Linked DNA regions of Homo sapiens: region 2 is linked to region 1. The links are contacts of gene promoters, found by promoter capture Hi-C in blood cells and fetal thymus (Javierre and others, 2016). All regions are on one chromosome and are shown on one strand. The core of a region is centred on a gene start or on the middle of the fragment in contact, and the rest is flanking DNA. Distances in the headings are between cores, read along the strand shown. Region 1 holds the start of SDHAF4 (succinate dehydrogenase complex assembly factor 4). Region 2 overlaps LMBRD1 (LMBR1 domain containing 1).

Evidence for each region. The method cuts DNA at HindIII sites, captures the fragments that hold promoters and counts their contacts. A CHiCAGO score of 5 or more calls a contact.
Region 2: a contact is called between a fragment that was not itself captured here and the fragment with the promoter of SDHAF4 in region 1, in 1 of 17 cell types (total CD8 T cells). The highest score is 5.4, in total CD8 T cells.

What each region holds. Positions count from the first base shown.
Region 1 is chr6:70,562,100-70,569,760 of GRCh38, forward strand. SDHAF4 (succinate dehydrogenase complex assembly factor 4) reads left to right here and starts at 4,831. Exons shown (of 3, transcript NM_145267.3): 1 at 4,831-4,905. The coding sequence starts at 4,842. RefSeq lists a silencer at 5,119-5,178. The HindIII fragment of the contact is 5,796 bases long and covers 4,132-7,661 here.
Region 2 is chr6:69,668,218-69,675,878 of GRCh38, forward strand. LMBRD1 (LMBR1 domain containing 1) reads right to left here. Exons shown (of 16, transcript NM_018368.4): 16 at 5,793-7,661. Among named protein-coding and RNA genes, the nearest start is that of LMBRD1, 120 kb to the right of the region's middle. The HindIII fragment of the contact is 3,759 bases long and covers 1,393-5,151 here.

The sequences.
Region 1 (7,661 bases), core at 3,581-6,080:
TTAAGTCTTGTGCCAGTGCTTGGGCTGTCAGGCATCAAAGACAGCAGATGTATCTGACCTCGTTAGTTTCCACAGTAGAAAATGGGACCCTTTATTCTACCAAGGTTAACCAAACATATGAAATGGGTTTGATGACAGCACCAAATATAAAAACACATCAGGTGTAATATAGTCCATCTTTTTGTCTTCCCAACATCTGCAAGCATAATTCTCTCCATATTTACACATTTAAAATGCATCTTTCTGACATAGTACTACTATCCCTCATCCAGTTTTAAGTCCAGGACCTCAGTGTGATGTTCTCTGATTCTGTAATAATCTCATCTCAATAGTGTGCAACTCATAGACAAAATTGTGACCTAACCACCACCCCTATACATAATAACAGTATAATAGGAAAGAAGCTGGGCGTGGTGGCTTATGACTGTAATCCCAGCACTTTGGGAGGCTGAGGTGAGAGGATCACTTGAGCTAGGAATTCAAGACCAGCCTGGGCAACATAGCAAGACCCCATCTCTAGAAAATAATTTAAGTGAGCCTGGTGGCATGCACCTGTAGTCCCAGCTACTTGGAAGACTGAGGTGGGAGGATCACTTGAGTCCAGGAGTTCAAGGTTGCAGTGAGTTACTGCACTTCAGCCTGGGCGACAGGGAGACCCCCCAACTCAAATATATATATACATATGAAATAAGAGAAAATTTTATAAACATGCATGAGCCAGTGAGGAAGAAAACAAAATAGAGCAGGGCTTTGCAATGTCCGTGCCAAGAATTACCTAGACTACTTTAAAAATACACATTCTAGGACCTTATTACGGACCACCTGAATCAGAATTTTCAGGATAGTGTAAAAGCAGCAGCATGTTTTATGTCCCAAATTTCTCTAATAACACGTCGCAAATACAGTACTTAGTCCTGTCAGTGGTCGTGAATCTAGATGGTTATGACTTCTCACCACTGCCAACTATTTTCTGTTTTCTTTATGTTCAAGCAGCACCTCTGCTGATCAGATTTATGTATCCAGTGGATGACAGAGGATCTGAGGTGTGGGTGGTCTTGCCTATATATGGTTGTAATAGTCTTATATGTAAATGTTACCATTCAGCATGGTATTTTTTAAAATAAAATATAAAAACATGGTATTGTGAGGAGGGATTCCAGGAGACCCCCCTGACTTCTGGTTATACTGTTCTCCCTACTCTCTTTTCTCCATGGTCATCAGGGCCAATCACTCCAGCTAGCACCATCACCACTTTCTCTAACCTTACCTAGAGGAATGAGGTCAAAATGGCTGGGTGGCAATTCCAGCTGGGCACAAAAATTGCTATACCAACAGAACCTGGACTCAGAGATGGCTAGCAAGAGTAGTGAAGGGTCTGAGATTTTATCCTACTTGCAAGGTTACAGGCTAGGTTGCTGCAGTTTCATGGATGATGACAGGATACTCCTGGACAAAAGACAAAACAGCTTTATTACAGCAAAATAGAAGCCAGAGTGTCCGCATATTTGCATCAGTTCCCGTAGCCCAATTCCCACAGTGTGATGCAGAGGGCCGGATGACGTCTGTGCACATGGGGGGTTGCATTACAGAAGAATCCAGGATCAAGAATCAAGCAGTTTTTGAGCAAACAACAAACAAGCTAGTCTCTCTCCCCCAGGGAGCAGCAGTTAAATGGTAGTAATGCTGTGATTGCCTTGACCTACTTAGGTGCCTATATGACTAACTACAGAAACTGCTTAGCATCAGGAGATGGATACGGCTTGCAGTCTGGCACACTCAGTAATAATATACAGGCATGTTCAGGGGCCTTCGGAGCTTGTCTCTTCTCTACTACAATGGAAAGCAAAATATATTTTATATCAGTAAGTCATATGCAATAGTAAGAAGTCAGACCCTTTTCTACTCTTTGATCTCTGTTATTCTGTCAACAGAAGATATATCACCAAATACCGTTGACTCATTTGGAAAATATGACAAATCCTTTAGGGCAGTATCCCAAAGTGTATTTTCTCACCTCGTTCCAAAACAACCTTCAATAAGGCTGTCCGTCATTCCATAAAATCGGTTGCTTTTGGATGATGGAATATATAAGACTGTGAATCCTGCAGGCATTAGTCCCCTGCTTTACATCTTTCACAAGAAAATGAGTTCTTCGGTAAGAAGCAATGTTGTATATGATATTGTATTAAATATGGAGTAGTGTGTTAAGGTATTCAGTAAGTCCACAGGTGAAGTATATAATAAGCATAAATCAGGGAAAACAATCTAAATGCAGAATAATTGTCTCTTCCTGTAAGAACAAATTGCAACCTCCTTCATAACAGTAGGATTTCATTGTAATCAGACCTGCCACCCAGACCACATAAAAGTGTATCATGGGATCAAGTTGGTCACTGCAGTTGGCGAGTAGTGGTAGTAGCCAATCAGTCATGGCAGAAGAAAGACGGTGTTAAAAGTACATGTATGTCTCCATTCTTGCCACCGTGGCTACCTTGTTACTGAGTCCACACCTGTTGTGGGGGAAGGAGGCTGAGTAATTGATGTCCACAGAATGGGTCACTGTTGCAGCCCTTGTGTAATCCCCTTTTGAGAGTGGCCGGGACCTAATAATAGGATACAGTGGAAGTGGTGGGATGTCGCTACCGAAATGAGATTACAGAAGTTCAGGGCTTCCATTTTGAGTGGTCTTTCTTGCTCCTTAGTTCATTTGTCCTGTGGAAAGCCAGCTGCCATGTTGCAAGATAGCCTTTGGAGAAGCCCACTTAACAAATAACTGAGAAGGTTTCCAGTCCAAAGTCCACAAGGAACCAAATCTTGCCAATAATCATGTGAATGAGCTTGGAAGCAGATCTTCCCTTAGTTGTGCATTTATACGAGACTGGGACTTCAGCCAACAGCTTGGCTGCAACCTCATTTAGGACCCAGAACCACAGTCACTCTGGCTTCTAGGTTACTGATCCACAAAAACTGTGAGAGAATAACTGTTTATTGCTTTAAGCCAATAAATTTTGGGATAATTTGTGAGGCAGCAATAGATAACTAATAATCTTGTTCTGATTAAGAGCCCTTCTGCAATGGAAGCTCTTTTTTTTTTTTTTTTTTTTAACGTTCAATAGGACCCAAATGTTTTCATGCTTTGGGACCACTTTGAGAGGTCCTATTCCAAAGACCCAGTCCAAAACTTTTACATTCCCAGTTCCCAGCCACTTGACAAACCAGTCACTGCCTATGAAATGTCGATTTTTATCTCAAGCCATGTCTCTTTTTAGGCAAAGCATACAAGATAAGCTAAATTCTGGCCAGGCACAGTGGCTCACACCTGTAATCCCAGCACTTTGGGAAGCTGAGAGGGGTGGATCCCTTGAGGCCAGGAGTTTGAAACCAGCCTGGTCAACATGGCGAAACCCTGTCTCTACTAAAAATAGAAAAATCAGCCAGGTGTGGTGACATGTGCCTGTAAAAACATAAAATACATAAATAAGCTAAATTATGCATGCTGGAAATAATTTTTTTTCCCTGTTCTGTTCCTTCAGGGCCTCTGTTAAGTGGGGCTCTAAATATGAAAAGCAGTCAGTTGCCAGCTGGGCCAGTTTATTGAGCAAAGCCATCATCCGACTTTGAATTTTTTCCTCAGTCAGCTAGTCACAAGGAATTCATTATTAAACTGTAGATATAAGCTAAAGGTCAAAAGCATGATATTAGGACTGTGAGCTCCCTACAAATGAAAACTGTTTCCGTTTTGACTTTGGCCCAGTTCTGTGTATCCCACTTTCTCTCTTTTTTCTTTTTCTGTTTTTGAGATGGAGTTTTGCTCTGTCTCCAAGGCTGGCGTGCAGTGGCGTGATCTCTGCTCACTGCAATCTCCGCCTCCCGAGTTCAAGCGATTCTTCTACCTCAGCCTCCCAAGTAGCTGGGATTACAGGAATGTGCCACCTCGCCCGGCTAATTTTTGTATTTTTAGTAGAGTGTTGGCCAGGCTGGTCTCGAACTCCTGACCTCAGGTAATCTACCCGCCTCGGCCTCCCAAAGTGTTCGGATTACAGGAGTGAGCCACCTTGCCCGGCCCACTTTCTCTTCGTAAAAGGATCTCCTTATCTAGGAGAACCAGATAATTCTCAGTTCATGATAAGAAGCTTCGATCGTATAACCACTTGATGTCACATGGTCAGACACTACCAAGGCGCAATAGCTAGCCAGAAACTTTTCTTTAAAAGAAAAGACAAAATTCCAGAATTCTGGGGGCCTTCACTATGATTCTGTAAATATTTCCACGAGTTGCACAAAGCATCCAGGTCTGCCACATCCACTCAACGCTATCAGAGCTGGTGGGATGTAAGGGTTAAGGGGCAGAGCTCATTGCACTGGATCCTGGCCTGGATGGAGAGCCTTTTCTTGCTTTGCACCTCATTCAAAAATGTCGCCTTTCATATCATCTGGTTAGTCGGTCAGAATGGACGAACTAGGAGCTGACTGAACAAAGATTTAAAACACAAAACAGGGAGAATTAGGTAAAAGAAGCATTTTACATGAGTGAGAGAGTAAAAGGTGCTCAATCTTTGTAAACTATAAAAGGGATCTTCCACGGGCCATTTCGGCTCAGACTGACAAGCATGAACGGAACGGAATTATTCCCTCTTCTAACTGCAGCCACGATTTGGCGTTTTAACACCGGGCTCAAGGTAGCCTGGGTCTCTCTTGGCCAAAGAGCCCAGGGATGCCTCTAACTCCTTTTCTAAAGCCGGCCACGGAGGCCCCGCCCTCTGCAGGGAGGCTCCGGATCATGCCCCCTGCTCCTCCCACTACTGCTTTGCGCCTGCGCGGAGGCTCGGGGAGTCGGCGCCATGACCCCATCGAGGCTTCCCTGGTTGCTTAGCTGGGTCTCGGCCACGGCGTGGAGAGCGGCAAGTAAGCACCTGGCCTCGGGGCCACGGTCGCGGGAGGGGTCGTGAAGGCCCAGGCGCAGAGAGAAGCGCCTCCCGCGGAGGAAGCCGCGTGTGTCCTGGCCGTTCGGTGTTGCCAGGGGCTGCCCAGCTTCTCCCGCCCAGCCGCCCACCCGGTGGCCTGGGCAGGTTCCTGCAGCGCCCCGGGTCTCGGGTGGGACTAGAGCGAGAAAATCGCTAAGGCCCTTTCAGCCCCCGGGACGTCCGCTTCCTACCGAGCACGCGGTGGCCCAACAGGACCACAAACGTTCCGGGTTGTTCCTGTGGGAGCTCGCAGGGCACACCGCACTTCGATGCCCCAGAGAAAAATGGAAAAGAAGGCCCTTTGGGAATGGGAGTCATTGATTTACTTATTTATTTACATCATTATTTACAGGAATCCGCGCTCCTGGTCCAGGCTCCAGCAGAAAAGGATTTGTGGCAGTTTACAGTTTATCTTTTAAAAATGGGAAAAGTGCAGAAGTGAGCCAAAGGCAAATAAGTATAACGTAAATTAGATGAAGCCAGGAATTGTCAGTACAGAAAAAGCATTCATGCTTTCAGTAAAACCAACATTTTTAAACCCATTGTTGTTGGAAATTTTTCTCAAGATAATACAGTTAGCAGCCCAGACTATGCAAAACATAATTTTATTTATTTATTTATTTATTTGTTTATTTATTTTGAGATGGAGTCTCGCTCTGTCCCTCAGGCTGGAGTGCAGTGGCGCAATCTCGGCTCACTGCAAGCTCTGCCTCCCAGGTTCACGCCATTCTCCTGCCTCAGCCTCCTGAGTAGCTGGGACTACAGGCGCCCGCCACCGTGCCTGACTAATTTTTTGTATTTTTAGTAGAGACGGGGTTTCACCGTGTTAGCCAGGATGGTCTCGATCTCCTGACCTTGTGATCCGCTCGCCTCGGCCTCCCAAAGTGCTGGGATTACAGGCGTGAGCCACCGCGCCCGGTCCGCAAAACATAATTTTAATATATGACACCTGGAGAAGTTATGTAAGTTGAAAACAGTAATTATTGCCCTCAAATGGTGCCAGATTTCTATGCAATTTGTTTTCCTTTGTGCAATCATTTTACCCAAATACAAACATTTTACTTAATTGTATAAGTTTTAAATAGTCCAGAAATGAATAATACAGAAAGTGAAAGTCCTACATTATCCAAACCTCAAGGTAATAACGTTAAAATTTTGTAGGGTTCATTCAACATCCCCCTTTAACTAGTTTTAAACAATTATGAATTATTCCATATATATATATGTATACACACACACACACGTAGCACACATGTAAGCTATGTAGCAGTCATGTAAGCTATGAAGCACAACCAGCATCTATGAACTTATACTCCAATTTAAGAAATAGTCTCTATTGCCAAGGAGGTCTCTATTTGCTGCTTCCTGATACAACTGTGCAATGGTGTTTTTAATCTTTATAGAAATGTTTTCATATTGTTGATTTTTTTTCAGATAACGCTGTGTTTTGTGATTGAGTCACATTGACGCATGAGGTTGTAGTTATTCATTCAACTGTGTGAACATATGATGCATTTTCCAGTGCCCTTCTCAAAGGACATTTGGGTAATTCCAGAAACACTAGGATTGGGTGCTACACATTCTTGTGTACCTTATTTGTGCATTAGTGGAAGGAGTAGAATTCCTGGAGTATGTTATAGGTCTTTTCATTGTTACAATATAATGCCAAGGTGTAACGGCATTTTCTAATTCTATAGCAATTTTCACTTCTACCAGCAGTGTATTGGAGTTCTGTTGTTCCACAAACTTGCCGAAACTTAATTTTGCCTTAGGTTTTAATTTTTGGCTGCCTACAGGGAAATGAAATGACACCTCATTGTGATTTTGCTTTTCTCTGATTAAAGAAGTAAAACATCTTTTCAAATATTCACTTTTTGTGAAATACCTCTTTCTTTTTTCTTTTTTTTTTTTTTTTTTTTTGAGGCGGAGTTTCGCTCTGTCGCCCGGGCTGGAGTGCAGTGGCGCGATCTCGACTCACTGCAAGCTCCGCCTCCTGGGTTCACGCCATTCTCCTGCCTCAGCCTCCCGTGTAGCTGGGACTACAGGCGCGCGCCACCACGCCCGGCTAATTTTTGTATTTTTAGTAGAGACGGGGTTTCACCGTGTTAGCCAGGATGGTCTCGATCTCCTGACCTCGTGATCCGCCCGTCTCGGCCTCCCAAAGTGCTGGGATTACAGGCGTGAGCCACCGCACCCGGCCTCTTTTTTCTTTCTTTGTTTTTGAGACGGAGTTTCACTCTTGTTGCCCAGGCTGGAGTGCAATGGCGAGATCTCAGCTCACTGCAACATCTGCCTCCTGAGTTCAAACGATTCTCCTGCCTCAGCCTCCCAAGTAGCTGGTATTACAGGCGCCCACCACCACACCCAGATAATTTTTTGTATTTTTGGTAGAGACAGGGTTTTGCCATGAACTCAGGTGATCTATCAGCCTCGGCCTACCGAAGTGTTGGGATTACAGGCGTGAGCTGCCACGCCCGGCCTTTTTTCTTAACAGATTGCTTCTTATTTATATTCTTTACATATATTTGTATGCTAAACCTTTTTTAGTTACGTAAGTGTCAAATACCTCAATTTGTGGTTTGTTTCTGTCACTGCTAGGCAGAATAGAATAACGGGTCTGCATGTGTAATCATGCAGCTTCAATATAAAAGGTATCTTAATAAACAGATGTTTATAATTTTATCTATAAAATTTTGT
Region 2 (7,661 bases), core at 2,022-4,521, 900 kb before region 1:
TTTAAAAAATTGTGAAATGTGCTAAAAGTGTTTGAAAAAAGTTCTTTCTCATTAACAATCTCCCAAGTTTGTATTTGTCTTTAGCCTACTTGTCTTTGTTCCATCAAGCTCAAACTACCTTAAGCAAAGTGATTAATGGAACAATTCAGGGGTTGGCATACTACAGCCAGGAAAACAAATCCAAGCATTTTATTTATTTATTTATCTTTATTTTTAAAGGGTTGTAAAAAGGAAAACAAAAAAAAAGGGTGGGGGGTGGGGGGACAGGGTCCTTGTGTGGTCGTGAAAGCCTATTTACTATCTGGCCCTTCATAGAAAATGTTCACAAACCTTGAGAATAATCAAACATTCTGAAATAGTAAGTACAACTTAAGGAGGTTTTACTTTGACAATGTAAGTATAAAAATGTTTTCTCTATTCCCATAGTGGAGTAACTAATTTACAGAACAATTAAGTGGCAAGTTAAAATCAGAATATTTACTAGTGATGTAACTAAGAATATTTAGTTTTGGTTATGAACAACTTTATTTTGCAAACTTAGGCATGCAAGAAATAGAATTTATGTCTGTAATGACTTAGTTTGTTTCTCATACCACTTAGGGAGCAGAAACTTAATGTCAGTTGATTTGGGGTTTCCCTTTTTCCCAGGGTTGAGTGTAATTTTGAGGGAGACATCTGGTTACCATGTTTCACATGTTTGTACTGCTGAAGCAGCCCCTACTCTTCTCCCGGGCTTCCCATCTGTCTCACCTCTAATGCAGCAGCCCTGCTTCCCAGTCACACAGCCCCCTAGTTACGCAGCCCCTAGTCACACAGCCCCCTAGTCACATAGCCCCTAGTCACACAGCCCCTTCAGGACGTTTCCCCACTGTTACTTCCTTGCCACTGTCTAAAGCCATTATAGTTTCACTAAACCAAAGCCAGATTCTTTCTGCTTAAAAGAATTTATTGCCTGTAATTTGGTTAGCATTTGCTTATCTCAAGAGTTTTGAGCCTTTCCTAAGCTCAAGGGAGTATCACTTTTAGCCTCACTGCATTCTCATTTATAGCATTTGTGACATTATAATTTTCTGAGTCTATTTGCCCCCCTGGCTTCGAAACACCTTTGAAAATAGGCACGATTTTGTGTTTTCATTTGTTTCTCCATTTTATAGCAGTTTCCAATACATACTAGGCACTCAAGTATTGGTTCAAGTGAATGAGTCACTAAATTCATTACAGAAGTCTTTTAAGGCTTGATTATATTTTGTCAGCATTGGAGTTACTGTATGCATCAGGGATAAACTTACATTTCCTTTAAATTACTCTTTTACTGGGAAGACTGGTCTTCCACAATGGAGATTTTGTGTGTGTATAAATATTTACTTATACACACACTTCAGGTTTTCAAAAAGCTTCAGGTAAATATAGTAGAAAGTGGAACTTAAACTGGTAAGCACAGTAGATATCAAGTTTGGTAGTGCTTTTCATTAAATATTAGAATAAGATCCAGAATAGAATCTAGTATATCATAGATGCTCCTGGGGAGCCACTGAATGAACTCTGAGCAAGTAAAAAAATAATTTCTTTTAGATACAAATTTTGTTTTGGTCAACAGAAACATCACCTCTTGATGTGGAAATGAGGTACTCTGAGTGCTTCCTAATTTCCCCAAGTGTTAACTTTGTTGTCTCCTTATCTGCTATCAAAAGTGTCTTCTAGGGCAACAGAAGACATTGCTTTACACACGTACTTGTCTTGAGCACTATCCAGCAGCTTCAGTGTAGAGCTGAAGCAGATATGAGCCTATGGGGGAACCACACAGAAAACTATATTCCTGACCATAAAGGCTTAGTTCTCCAGAGAAATGCTATCCTATCCCTAGGTTATAAGTTAATCTTTGTTTATGGACTCTGTTCTACAAAGAAAGTGTTCAAATTCCCTGTGAAATCACAGGTGAAGATTATGGGTGGTATTAGAAGTGCTTCTCGTGATTTTGCCAATGAGAAGAATAAGGTAGCCCCCAATAAAACTTACCAAATTAAAATATGCATGGAGAGGGAGAAAGGTCAGAAGAGTGACTTTCCTAGAACTGAGGTGTAGCTTAATCTATATGTACAAATCTAATAAAGTATGTCACTTGAGACTTAAACATAGCCAATATATGTGTTGAGAACTGTCCAAGGCAGCACAACTCAATCCGGGCAACTTGGGCAATCTGGTCCCCTTAGAGTGGTCTCTGCTGAAGAAGGGTGGATATTTAATCAAGCGTCATCACAAAATGCCTGAAATGCCCCTTGCTACCTATCTCACATCACTTCAATCCCACAGTCATCAAGTAACCTGCTGATTATGCTTCCAGGAGAGGATGTATTGTGGTTTGGAAATATGAAAATTCTGGTAATTGGAGTATCTTTGATTATAACTGTAACTTGATAAAGTGATTTCTTTTATGTATATTTATTCATCATATCAGACACATACAATCTTAGTAGATATTGACAAGGTCCAGTTACTACCAAAGGCCATTTGGCTACTAATTCCTACCTAGATCAAGTTCTGAAATGATGGGTCTTATCTTCTTTAACTGTAGAAATTCAGTAGCCGCGATCCAGTGCCTGAAATAACTACAAGTTTAGATGTTTGCTGAGTGAATAAGTTACATACACACAAAGCTAATCCATGTTGAGATTTCTTGATAGCCAAAATGATTTTCCTGGAGATCCCAAATTCTGTCTCCTTGCATATGGTCTTTCTATTTAAACTTTAGCAAAGACATTTGTTCGTTAACATTCTTTACATAATAATTCACAATGTAACTTCCTTCTAAATTTTGGTGCCAGAAAAAATTATCAGGAGGAAAACTGAGTGCTTCCTTCTATCAAATGTAAAATCTTCATTATCCATCATCTTTTTTCTCGGCTGCCAGAAAATTCCAAGACATATTTACATATAATCACAATGGCTATTATCTTCTGATAAAATTTCTCCTTTACGTATTTTTTATCTTTAATATATTTAAATATTGTCTACTGACTTCCTACAGTAAGAGAATTTCTTGAGACATTTTCTTCTTGCTTCTCTTTTATTCCATCTCCTAACATTGTTATACACATTGAGTAACTCTAATTTGAAAATCTGAAATCTGAAATGCTCCAAAATCTGAAATTTCTTTAGCATCAACATGATGCTTGAAGGAAATGCTCACTGAAGCATTACAGATTTCGTATTTTTTGATTAGGAATGCTCTACTGGTATGTATTCTGCACATATTCTAAAACAAAAAAACTCAAAATCCAAAACACTTCTGTTCCCAAGCATTTTGGATAAGGGATAATCAACCTGTATTACCATTTTAGATGCTGTATTGATTACCCCCATAGCTTTAATCAGCTGTAGGGGAGGAAAAAATCTTTTCTCTGTCCATTTTAGGAGCCCCAGCTGGGGCTCTGTAATAGAAGACAAATTAACAGGAGAAAAGCAAACAAATTAGTAAGAGTTGAATACTTCATATTGAATTGGACAAAGAGTAGTAAATTACAAAAATGTGGCAAGACAAAGGGGCTGGGGCCAGGGCAGAAAATGGTGGAACAGTAACTGGGAAAATGAGATATATTTTGCATGTTTGTCCCCTTCAAATCTCATGTTAAAATGTGATCCCCAGTGTTGGAGGAGGGGCCTGGTGGGGGGTGTTTTGGTCATGGAGGCACATCCCTCATGAGTAACCGGGTTTGGTGCTGTCCTAGTGGTAGTGAGTTCTCTATCAATTCATGCTAGAGCTGGTTGTTTAAAAGAGCCTGGAACCTCCTCTGCTTGCTCTCACCATGTGATACGTAGATTTCCCCTTCTACTTCCACCATAATTGTAAGGTTCCTGAGGCCTCACCAGAAGCAGATGCTGGCACCAGCTTGCTTGTATAGCCTGAAGAACAGTAAGCCAAATAAACTTTTTTCTTTGTAAATTACACAGACTCAGGTATTACTTTATAGCAACACAAATGGACTAATACAATAAGGGTTTCTTTAACAAGGTTGGTTTGTACAGGTTTTTCTCAGCCCTTATGACAAAAATTTAACTTTCCTTCTGGTATAGACAGGACATCTTCCATATGGGAGTTTTTATGTCCTGTTTTAGGAAGAAAAAGGGGTGGTCAAAGCATCCTTCTTGCATCTGCTGTTACAAGCTCAAAATAATTTGTATGCCAAAATGGCATATTTTGGGGTGGCATACTCTGCTACCCTTCAAGATATATAATCCCTCTACCAGAGACATATTTCTTAATTTCTCTCTTCTCCCCATCATCCCTCTCATAAAATGAGGATATCAACATGAACTCTTTTCCCCTTAGGTCTCTTTCCACCCCTCTTCTTCATTCTTCCAGGTTTTCACAACTGTCTTTTTATGTGGTCAAGGTCATACTTAAATTCTGTGCTGTAATCAGTGTTTACTGTGCTTTGCCTATGAAATGATTCTAAAACAGTATATTACTGAACTATGTACGTATCTTTCACTGAAGAGCTCGGTAGTATATTTGGAAAACATTATTTTCTGTATTGCTTTTTGCTTTCCTGAAGCTCCTGTGTTTCCTTTTCTTTTGCAATATGCATTTTTCATTTCCTTTGGTATGGTAGCACTGAGCTAGAAGTCAGTTCCAGGGTCCTCATTCTGCCAGTACCTTGTTGCATGGATGAATAATCACTTGTTTGAAGTTTACATGGAACATGACAGCCTTGGCCTTTTGGAAAGTTGTCACTTTAGATGATCTCTAATTTAGGTATTTTCCAGAAGGACTTCAAAGGAAATATGTTCTTCATTAGTGGAATTCATAACACAAATCAGCTTCATGAAAATGCAAAGTTAATAAAGGCATTCCACATGACTGGGAGGAAAAAAATACCTTAGTGTTAGAATAAAAGTAAACTTCTAAATATGTAGAAAGTTTATAGAATCTAGGATGAAAAAAATACATTTAAAAAATACAACTAACAAAATCAAAAGCTAAGAAGTTGGTCTGACAGAAACCAACAAAACATTACTAAAAGTAATGAAAAGTATATGGAGTATTCAAGACAAATACTTCTAACCTTGTAGGTTTCAAAATCAACCTCAAAAACAGGCTAAATATTCCTCCTTACTCAAAATAGTTTTTGTATGCTTAAACCATATAGACAAAGCTTAAGGCTTCTTTCTAACAAATTCACCTGTCAACTGAATACCTCCCATGTGTAAGAAGCTATTCTAGGCACCAAGGACAAAGTTGAAAAACCAGATGTTGTGTTTAAGTACTTAGAGTCTAGGCAATAAATCACAATATACCGTACAGGGTGACATGTGGATAGGGAGGAGCTAGCACCTGTGTGTGGGCAACCTGGGGGAGGAGGGACCTAGGGAGATAATGCTAAGGCTGAGACTTGAAGAATAAGGATTTTCTTAGAAGACAAAAGGAAGGGACAGGCATCAAAAGCAGAAGGAATAGTTCGACAGAGTGGGGATGTGAAGACTCATAGCCATGTGAATAATAGGAGCCATTTGTTAGCTGCCTCATATAACTGGTGTGGGGATGGCAGGGGAACTTGGAGTCAGAAGAGATGCACACCAGAAAGGCATTATCTATCCCATGAAGGCTTATGGAGTTCATTCTAAAATAACTGAAAGCTTTTTGCAGTAAAGAAATGAAATAATCAGATTTGTATTTTAAATGTTCAGAAAAGACTGAAAGGAGTCAAGACTTTGCAGAAAGCCCAGTGAGGAATTTCAAGAACCAGAGTTTATCAGTCTGCTTGGGCTGCCATCACAAAATGCCACAGACTCAGTGGCTTAAACAACAGAAATTTATTTTCTCACAGATCTGGAAGCTGGAACCTCAAGATTAAAGGGTTGACAACACTGGATTCTCCTGAGGCCTCTCCTGTTGGCTTGCAGACCACTGCCTTCTCATTGCATCCTCACATGGCCTCTTCTTTGTACATACACATTCTAGATGTCTCTCCCCCTTCTTATAAGAACACCAGTCATATTGGATTTGGGCTTCACGCAATAGCCTCATTTTACTTTAATTACTTTTAAAAGGCCCTATCTCCACATAAAGTATTATTCTATGAAGTACCAGGGGACAAGATTTCAACATATGAATTGTAAGGGGACACAATTCAGCCTATAACATAGAAAGTGGAGAAGAAGGGACAAATGGAAAGATAGGAAGTAGAAATTAACATGACATGATTGTTTGATGAGTCAGTTATACAGAAGAGATATGGAGATCTACCTGATTCTTTGTTTAGGCAATCAAGTGTCTGCGGTGCCATTTGTCAAAAAAATGAATGCAGAAGAAGGCTTAGTTTGCCCCCACAAAAGTGAATACTTCAATTTTCAAAATGTTACAGTTGAAGCAGTAATTTCTAGCTAAAAGATAACTCAAAGTTCAGAGCTTAAGAACAAGTAGTATAGATAGAAGCCAAGGGTATGTGAGATTGTCCACAAAGAAAATGTAATATAAGGCCGAGCGTGGTGGCTTATGCCTGTAATCCCAGCACTTTGGGAGGCCACTGTGGGTGGATCATGAGGTCAGGAGTTCAAGACCAGCCTGGCCAAGATGGTGAAACCCCATCTCTGCTAAAAATACAAAAACTAGCCAGGCATGGTGGCACATGCCTGTAATCCCAGCTACTCAGGAGGCTGAGGCAGGAGAATTGCTTGAATGCATGAAGGGGAGGTTGCAGTGAGCTGAGATCGTGCCATTGCACTCCAGCCTGGGCGACAAGAGTGAAACTCCATCTTAAAAAAAAAGAAAAAAGAAAATGTAAAATAAGAACAGAAGGGAATGAAATCCTGGTGAATAATGCTAAAGGGTAGTTGCAGAAGCAGAAGCCAAATACGAAAGCTGTGAAGGTTTATCAAGAGAGATGAAGAATCAGAACAGAGAAAAATGGCACAAAAATTAAGGGAGAGAATAATTAACTTAGATATAGTTGTTAATTCCTAAACTTTTTTTCAGAAACTTAATGATATTTTACCTCAAGGATCATGATATATACTTTTTTATGAGTTCTAATGTGCTTATGTTAGTAAACTAGAATATAATTTTTTATTATTTCTCACTATCCAGAATGTGTTCAAAATACCCTACTGATGTCATACAGCTTTCATTACATCTTTTGCAAATTTCAAATCTTTAGAATGAAAAATTATCTCTAAAACCAAAATATGATGCCATATATCTTAAATTAATCCATAAACTGATTTTTTTTTCCAGGATTAATTATTCTTGACAATACCCCTATTTATATTGAAATACACATTTTGAGGTCAGATGCAAAACAAAAGCTACCTATAACAATATGTATGCCTTAAATACTGTAGAGGTTGTAAGTTATCTAATGGACTGATATTTGAACAATATAACACATCTTGGAACGCCATGCTCTTAGAGCACTAACTAGAGTTTGAAATCTTTTCATGAAATCTACTTGAGTGGTGCTAAAGATTTTATGCAGAAAACTGAAAACAATTTGCATATGGGAGTAACATTCATCAGCTATATTGTAAATATTATTTGGAGGCAATCAGAGAGAGACACTTTAAAATTCCACATCACTCTGGAGAACCTAAGGCACAGATACAGATGATTTATTATGTTTTCAAAAAGTGACAAAAGGGAATATTAATTCTGGAAGATTTTTAAT